2 separate regions of the Homo sapiens genome follow, and region 1 is linked to region 2. The links are contacts of gene promoters, found by promoter capture Hi-C in blood cells and fetal thymus (Javierre and others, 2016). All regions are on one chromosome and are shown on one strand. Each heading gives the region's core, a stretch centred on a gene start or on the middle of the fragment in contact. The rest is flanking DNA. Distances are from core to core; before and after follow the strand shown. Region 1 holds the start of BTF3L4 (basic transcription factor 3 like 4). Region 2 holds the start of CDCA8 (cell division cycle associated 8).

Region 1 (4,227 bases), core at 733-3,232, about 14 Mb after region 2:
AACTAAGTAAGGGCTGATGAGGAGAGAGGTGTTAAAACTTAGAATGGAGATGTAGGTAATGGATGGAGTAGGGGGCCACACCTCCTAACCTCCATTCATAACCACTGATCGCTCACTTACAAAAAAACTTCGCTGAACCACAGCAAGGACAATTGTTGGGGACCCTTAAACAGCAGACCTTCTACCATTCGCTTGGCTCTTCTTATGCACTAGATACAGCTACCTGGGATGCAGGTGCTGTTTCCCAAAGGCAAGCAAGTGGCAGTAACCTAGCTCTTCGCGGAAGAAGTAACGAGAGAAATCTTCAGACCCAGAACAGGGTCCTCTGCATATGCAGGTCCCCAACGGCTCTATTTCTCCCAGGTGGGAAGGTGACCGTTCCTCAGGACCTCCCAAGTGCTAGGCACTATGCTGGGCTCTTAACATGCTTTCCTTAATTTACGGGCCATTCCTTCCCCCCAATCCAATAATTTAGAGAGGCCTCAAGTACAACTTCTCCATTCCCCAGACCCGCTACTCTCTACCCCAAGAAATCTTCAAACTCCAGGAGCGGTTGGGGAAGATAAAAAGAAATCTGGAGTGGCCTAAGAGTTAGAATGGGAGGGGAACGGTGCTAGGGCAAGAAGAGATTATACTGGGATCAGTATAGTAAAGATCAGTAAAGAGAAGATAAGAACGCGGTCTGACCCTTTCCAAGCCCATTATGTCCATCAGAAGAGATGACGAGGAGCAGGAAACTGAAGCCCAGCAAACAGGTGGCCCCGAGACGAGGCCGCGTCTCCATGGCAGTAGGTGCGCGGGGCCACGGGGCTGAGCGGACGCAGGGCCGGAGTCCCAGCAGACGGTCCACACAGTTCGCCGAGCGCCGCTCAGCACAACACCTCTACTTCCCAGATTTTTTTTTTTCAAACTCTGAAGGAAGTGATGTTAGACGGATGTGGGTGGTGCCTCCGGGGTCCGGTTTGGGATGGAGTGAGCTTAAAGGTGCAGATCACGTAGAAGGGTACGAGAGCTGTTCTCGAGCGCGAGTTGCTTTTCGTGGATTCTGGGTGTCCAGGTCCCGGGACGGAGCGGGAAAATGTAGGCCAAGATAGTAGGGGCGGGGGAGAGGTTCGGGAGAACCGTTGCTCCTCGCGTCCGCCACCCAGTCCAGCCCCTCCCCCCAAGAACCGCTGCACTTCCTAGTCAAAAGCAAATTATTGATTCGTGAGGTCAGTCGCTCCCAACAGTGGGCGGATTGCCCACTGGCCTCGGATTCTCCTTACCCCTCCACAAATCAAGACTGGACAACTGGATTTCATTGTTAGGTTCCTGCGAGGGTCTCTGAGGAGACCTGGCAAGCCTGTTCTGCGGTGCGTGGGCTCGTGCCGTGCAGACATGCACTTTCCCGCTGGAGAAGCTCTGTACCTTATTTTTCCTTGCAACCGCAAATCTTCTACTCAGGGATGATGCAACCAACTGATGCAAGCTCCAAGAAAACCAAACTTGGGACCTCTTATTGCAAAACTGACTTAGGTGGACTTAGGACACCAGGATATAAGTCACTGCAGGCTAAAGTGTAAAGCTTCTGGTTATTTTTCTTGTAGCTTGAGGATTTCTTCCCAATTTTTCCCCTTCGCTGTATAACAAACAGGTGAAAATGTCCGGTCTTTTTCTTCCTGGTACTAGTTGAGTCCTAAAGTCCGTACTTAATGCATAGCGAAAAAGCGACCTAACAAAAGTACACACCCAAATAAAAACATACCGACCACCCTTTTATTAGGTTCCCTAAAATTGTAGGCAGGGACACAACAGAACGCTCGGGAGACTGCAAGCCCCAGGATGCCGCGCGGCCACCTGCACCTGCCGCCACTAGCACTAAGAGGGATGCGCAAAGCAGGCGGGGCGTTGGAGTTCAGATGTTCGCTCCCGGGATAGGCTGCCCCGGAGAGGGAGAGGCGGGGTCGGCTGTATCACGTGGATCTGCTCCCGCCGCCGCCGCCGCCGCCGTCGTCTTTCTCTGTCTCGGCTGAGGCAGCCATCTTTCTCTTGCCGCGTGCTGGTGTTGGAGGACCCTCCCTGCTTCAGGTGAGACCCCCGGCGGTCCCGCCACTTCACGGCCATAGGCCGCTGCGCACGGTCTCCCCCCGCCCTCCCCTTCCGACACCCGCCAACCGCTCAGGCTGCCACTTCCGCCGTGGTGCGGCGAGCGGGGGCGGAGGCGGCTGGCTTGGCCTGTCGGTTACCGGCGGCGCAGCTGGGGGTCGGCACCTGTGGGAAGGTCCCCAGCACCACCGCCCCCTGTGGGAGCGAGCGGGCCCGCCCTGTTGCCGCCCAGACCCTGTCCCAGGAGGCAGGTGGACGCCCCTCCTCTGTTCCATTACTCCTTGCTCACAACAGCAGTGTTGTGTGCTTTGAGCTTTATACAGGCTCTCTGTTGTCATCTCATTTGATGCTCCCAGTCTACAGATAGGGAAGCTGAGGTTACCACTTCCCGCCCTTGAGTCCAGGGAACCGAACTCAGTTACAGCACTCTTCACCTTGTAATGGCAGTGTTTGTTTACAAGTCGGCGTCCCTTGCCCATCTTTATAACCCCCCTCCCACTGCCTGCTGACCGACAGGCTCAGTGTTGCACAGCTAGTGAATGGCGGTTTCAACTTCCGTTCCCACATTCTTGCAGTTTACCATAGTTGTCCCCTCGGGAGTGGTAACAATAGTTACCAGTAACTGTGTATCTTCTGTGAACCATTCCCTGTGGTTGATAATGTTTTAACCCTCAAAACAACCCTGTGAAGTACGTGGTGTTATACCTTTCCAAATGCAGGAGGAATACAAGTTCAGAGAAGAAAAATACCTTTCCCAACTGGTAGAACCTTGGTCTTTCTGATTCCAAAGCCTGTGCTTGTCTTAGAGAAACCCTACATAATAAAAAGTCAGGACTCAAGGTTGCAATTATTTTTATCTCTGTGTAAACATGATGTATGTGAAAGTGCCTACCACAATGCTTCTAACTTAGGCACTTAATAAATATAAACCTGTTTACACCCTTTCTTGAGTCCTTGAGAACAGTGCTAAAAGATCCTGGAATCCCCAAGGAAGAACTCATTAATCATGTGGCTTTAGGAAGTTACTTCTCCCTTTTGGGCCTAGGAAGGGACTTCTCCCTTCTGGGCCCTTATTTCCTAATCTATTAAGATGGGAGGGAGGGAACTGTTTCGTTTGTAATTTATACTTTGCTGGTGCTAGCAGATGTTGAGATGACATCACAGATAGGAATGATGGGTGCAATAAAGTAGAGGTTGATTGAGAATAGAGAATTAAACCAGGTGATCTTGGAGGTCTACTCCAGATTCTGAGCTTGACATCGCATAGACTGAGTCCAGTCCTCTTTCCTACTTGAATTCCACACACCACAACTTGCCAAGAAACAAAAGACTACTCTTGTTCCTCCCCTACTGCCTTGAGCTCTCAGTCTCCCTAAAATCATTTTTCTCTGAGATACTCCTTAGGAACAAAATTTCTCAATTCTGTTGTCCTGACCACCTGGAATGGAATCTGTTCTTTCATCTATACCTTGATTTGAAGAGTTAATTTTGTTCTTGCTTTTATTTCAAACAAGTCAAGACTTTGTCTTGGCATCCCAACCTCTGTCTGTTCTCTTGGGAATTGTTACTTCAAAATGCAGAAGAATCCCAAAGGGTTTACCAAGTATCTAGGTCTAATGTTTTTCCTTAGCCCCTTTTTTTTTGCAATAAATTCCTTTGGCTCTTTGTTAGTTCACTACACTCTCATGGCCACATTCCTTTGAGAAAAGTGAATGTTGGTCCTTTTCTGTGGATATTTGAGCATAGGAATTGGGATTTAAGTCATCAAATTTAAGTCTATGGCAGAGCTAAGATTGGCACACATTTAAGACTTCTTGTTTTGGACTCTAAACACACTTCCTCCTATAAAAGTGTTTTTAGCTGCTTCAGCATTGTGATACAGCGCTGAGCAGAGTGAAGAATCATAAATTCTAAATATTATTTGGGATCTGGACATTAGCCTTAAAGAAGAGATAGATATATAGGTTATTGCCTAAGGATAGTGTCAAAGTACAAAATGGTTAGTAATTATATAGTCTTTGATGCTGCTTTTTTTAATCTCTCAAATGAAGCAAACAGTATTTTTTTCATGTGAATGATGACTATACAGGGTTTAGAGAATTGGCCAAAGAAGATTTGATAACAACCTAGTCCCTTATTCCC
Region 2 (4,318 bases), core at 1,073-3,572:
TTTAGTAGACGGGGTTCCTGACCTCAGGTGATCCGCCCGCCTCGGTCTTCCAAAGTGCTGGGATTACAGGCGTGAGCCACCGCGCCCGGCCTGCCTCAGCTTTCTGAAGGAGACCCTGGTTTCCCCTCGGGAAGGGTAACCTGGATAGGGCAGTCTCCTGCTTCAGAGGATTCCTGGCGTCCAAGCGCCGTCTCTTCTCTGACATACAGTCCTGTCTCCCCTGCCCGAGGCTGCCGGTCGCCTTCCTGAAAAAGCGGAAAAACTTAAAAGTCCAGACAGCCAAAGCGTGAGAACCCTCCAGGGACTGCACCACGCGCCCACAGTCTCTCTGCGCATGCTCACACGCGACCTCCCCACAAAGCTACTCCGCGGGCCTGCCTGGCTACTGAGTCGCGAAAATATATCGTAGTGCCGCAATGACTTCTGGGTACTGTAGTCCAACATGTGGACTGGCCACTCGGCTTGAAGCTTCCTTGGGATTGGATGTTGGGACCGTCCAAACACGGCGACTTCTCATTTGTCAGCCTGCGGCAGTTTAAATTGGGTGGCGGTGGTGGCATGTCCTGTTAGCTGTGGAGTCTTTTCCTCTTATCTTGCGCCTCCGGTTGTGCCTTAATGACACTTTTGACATTGTGTATCACAACCAACTGGCAAAAACTAGTAAATCACGGGCTCCTGACGTGGCAGCTCTGGCTAAAATGCAGGTGGACGTCCTAGGTGCCCAGGGAGTTCGGGCTCACTGGGGAGTAGGGTGAAGGAAACCCTGAAACCGAGAGGCTGGAAGCCCGACTTGCGCAGCATAAAAACACCTGCAGGGGGAAAGCCTACATGAGGTACGGGTTGTCATCCCGTCTCATCTTGGCCATCTGACTGATGGAGATCCTCAGGCACCCAGCAGACTGGGGTGTCACCCCCACTACCCACTGCCCAGGGCTGACCTCGGGCGGAAGAGCGACATTCAAATATTTGTTGCATATGGAGCAACAGACCAGGGTGGAAGAGAGAGAAAGGACTTTCCAGGAAGGTCCAGGCTTGCCAGGACTTCTATGCTTGGACTGCTCTGTCCCCAAGCTCGCTGGTGCCCATCAGGAGCCTGCTTGGCACCTTTGCTTATTTCTTCGATTGTTCCTCAACTCAGAGGGGGAGAGGCAAGATTATCACTCCCATAGCCTATAACATGCACGCTTAAACACAACCCCTCTGACATGGCTTCAGACCGCATCCACAGGTGAAAAGCACCAAATCCAAACAATCAGGCCACAAACCCGTCAAGAGCTCGCCGGTCTGGCCGTCCAGTCGCCGCCCGCCTTGAGACTCAGCCTGAGCTACAGCTTCGAAACTAGCCTCTAGCCTTCTGGGTCTCAGCACAACTCTTGAGCAATCCAACCCTGTGGCCGTGGGCAGATACCAAGATGCACAGTTAGCACCTCCGACAGGACCGCGGCTCGGCGGGGCTCGCCGTCTACACGCCCATTCCCAGGCCCACGGCCACGACACCCAGAGCTGCCTCCTGCCCTGGGCTCCCTGGAGCCTGGTGGCCGCGGCTCATGCTGCAGTCACCGTGTGGCCAGCTGCCAAGCGCCACTACTTGCACCTGAAGTCGCAGCCCCGCGCTGCGCACCCAGTCGAGGCGCCAACACGCGAACTGGGCGGGAGTGGCCGGCCCGCGGGGGAGCGAGGAACGACAGGGTTCCCCCCACTCGCTGCCCAGACTGGCCGCGGGATAGCGCGCCCCCCCCAAAGCCTGCACCCCTGCCCTGCTCCTCTATCATTCCGTCCCCCTTGCTCTGTCAAACCCTGCCGGGGCTGCTCTGTCTCTGCCGACCCGCCACTTGCCCGAAGTTCGGCCTGAGGAGCTTGGGGCCCTGAGGAGCGCCGACGTAGGCAGCCAGCCAGTCAATCAGTCAGAGGGTCACGGCGGCCCCTCGGCTACTCAGTGGCAGCCAGGCCAGAAAGAAGCAGCCGCCAACCCTGGAGCAGAATCCTACAGCCGACCTGACCTAGTAGGCCCCCAGCCCTCCAGAGCTTGGGGTATTGCAGAGCCGCCACAAGGCCTGCCGGGAGTAGTAGTTTGTATAGTTCGCAGCCGGCCAGGGCGGAGCCGGGTGGGTTGGTGGGGAGGGCGGGGAAACAAGCCTGGACCACAACTCCCAGGAGTACCCGCGACGGCGGCGGCCTCGCTGTCGCACTCAGGCTATAGGGGGCGCATTGGGCGGAAGACCCTGGGCCGGCAGGAACTTGCTTGTGATTGGATGTTGTGGGACGGCGGCTTCTCATTCGTCAGCCTGTGACTGTGGAGTTTGAATTGGGTGGCGGTTGACTGTAGAGCCGCTCTCTCTCACTGGCACAGCGAGGTTTTGCTCAGCCCTTGTCTCGGGACCGCAGGTACGTGCCTGGCGACTTCTTCGGGTGGTCCCCGTCCGCCCTCCTCGTCCCTACCCAGTTTCTTGCTTCCCTGCCCCATCTCCGCCGCTCCCCGCAGCCTCCGCCGAGCGCCATGGCTCCTAGGAAGGGCAGTAGTCGGGTGGCCAAGACCAACTCCTTACGGAGGCGGAAGCTCGCCTCCTTTCTGAAAGACTTCGACCGTGAAGGTAAGGGGCCAGGCCGTCGCGGCCTCCTGGGGCGGTCGCGGGATGCTGGCGGGTGGGGACACGAGCTGCACAGATTCGCCCGCCCGTGACCCGTGTCCTGTCGGCTCTGCCCTCCCGCAGTGGAAATACGAATCAAGCAAATTGAGTCAGACAGGCAGAACCTCCTCAAGGAGGTGGATAACCTCTACAACATCGAGATCCTGCGGCTCCCCAAGGCTCTGCGCGAGATGAACTGGCTTGACTACTTCGGTAAGAGCTGGAGAGCTTCCCTGGGCGGAGGCCAGGAGCCCCTTGGGGTTAGGTGACACCCTTCAGAAAGGGCTCGCTCAGATGTCACCTTTTAATGAGATCTGACATGACCACTTATGGAAAATTGCAGACCCTTTCACTCTCTGTCTCACTTCCCTACTTCATTTTTCTCTATGAAAAATGGGGGGGTGGTTGGGGGGCGGCGGGCGGGGCGGTCTCTGTCGGACAACTCAGCTCTGCTGTTTACAGGTCCAAAACAGCTGTAGTGAATGGGCATGGATGGGCTGTATTCCAATAAAATTTTAGTTATGGATACACTGAAATGTGAATTTCACATAATTTTCACACATCAGGAAATTTATTTAATTTTTTTTAAACAGAGTCTCACTCTGTCACCCAGGCTGGAGTGCAGTGCAGTGCAGTGGTGCGATCCCTGCTCACTGCAACCTCCACCTTCTGGGTTCAAGTGATTCTCCTGCCTCAGCCTCTGGAGTGGCTGGGATTACGGTCGCCTGCCACCATGCCCCGCTGATTTTTGTATTTTCAGTAGAGACGGGGTTTCACCATGTTGGCCAGGCTGGTCTCGAACTCCTGACCTCAAGTGATCCACCTACATAGGCCTCCCAAAGTGCTGGGATTACAGGAGTCAGCCACTGCGCCCGGCCAGAAAATAGTATTTTTAAAAATATATGTATATTTTACCCATTTAAAAATGAATGAATAAATGACATGGTTAGTTAACCAGAGCTCAGATAGAAGAATAACCCGAAGCAGCTCCTTCTGCAGCTTATGGAAATTGCTAACCTAAAAATGGGCGCATCAGGCTGGGCGTGGTGGCTCACGCCTGTAATCCCAGCACTTTGGGAGGCTGAGGCGGGCAGATGACCTGAGGTCAGGAGTTCGAGACCAGCCTGACCAACATGGAGAAACCCTGTCTCTACTAAAAATACAAAAAAGTTAGCCGGGCGTGGTGGCGCATACCTCTAATCCCAGCTACTCTGGAGGCTGAGGCAGGACAATCGCTTGAACCTGGGAGGCAGAGGTTGCGGTGAGCTGAGAGCACGCCATTGCACTCCAGCCTGGGCAACAAGAGTGAAACTCCGTCTCAAAAAAAAAGACACATCAGTTTTCCTGGCCAGAGAAAAATCCCAGCCTGTTTCTGCACTCCCTTATTAAATGTCCGGAGAAATGCAGGAGGCTGTACTTTTCTGCTGGGTTGCCCTTTTCTGTTTTCCTTATTATTAACTATCCAGCATGTAGTCTCCTTCCTGGATAGAAATGCATGGTCTGCTCACATATTAGACATTGAATGATCCTTTTGACTTGCCCTTTTATTTATTAAGCCATTCATTTGCTTATTTCTCCAAATACTGAGCATGTGTCAGTCACAGTGCTAGGTGCTAAAGATGCACTAGGGAATAAAACAGACATTGTCTCTGCCTTCAGGAACATACAGATTAGTAGAAAAGAGCTATTAG

What was found. Contacts are between HindIII fragments. The CHiCAGO score rates a contact against its expected background, and 5 or more counts as called.
Region 1: the fragment with the promoter of BTF3L4 here is called in contact with the fragment with the promoter of CDCA8 in region 2 in 1 of 17 cell types (fetal thymus); the score reaches 6.7 in fetal thymus.

What each region holds. Positions count from the first base shown.
Region 1 is chr1:52,054,313-52,058,539 of GRCh38, forward strand. It overlaps BTF3L4 (basic transcription factor 3 like 4), which reads left to right and starts at 1,983. Exons shown (of 6, transcript NM_152265.5): 1 at 1,983-2,067. It overlaps TXNDC12 (thioredoxin domain containing 12), which reads right to left and starts at 879. Exons shown (of 7, transcript NM_015913.4): 1 at 688-879. The coding sequence starts at 784. RefSeq lists silencers at 903-1,307, 2,168-2,407 and enhancers at 1,473-2,186, 2,187-2,898. The HindIII fragment of the contact is 3,174 bases long and covers 1,563-4,227 here.
Region 2 is chr1:37,690,194-37,694,511 of GRCh38, forward strand. CDCA8 (cell division cycle associated 8) reads left to right here and starts at 2,323. Exons shown (of 10, transcript NM_001256875.2): 1 at 2,323-2,591; 2 at 2,712-2,840. The coding sequence starts at 2,498. AIRIM (AFG2 interacting ribosome maturation factor) reads right to left here and starts at 336. Exons shown (of 5, transcript NM_001350770.2): 1 at 1-336. RefSeq lists enhancers at 1,064-1,574, 1,575-2,084, 1,857-2,046, 2,085-2,595, 2,596-3,104 and 1 more and silencers at 1,377-1,436, 1,457-1,626. The HindIII fragment of the contact is 4,527 bases long and covers 467-4,318 here.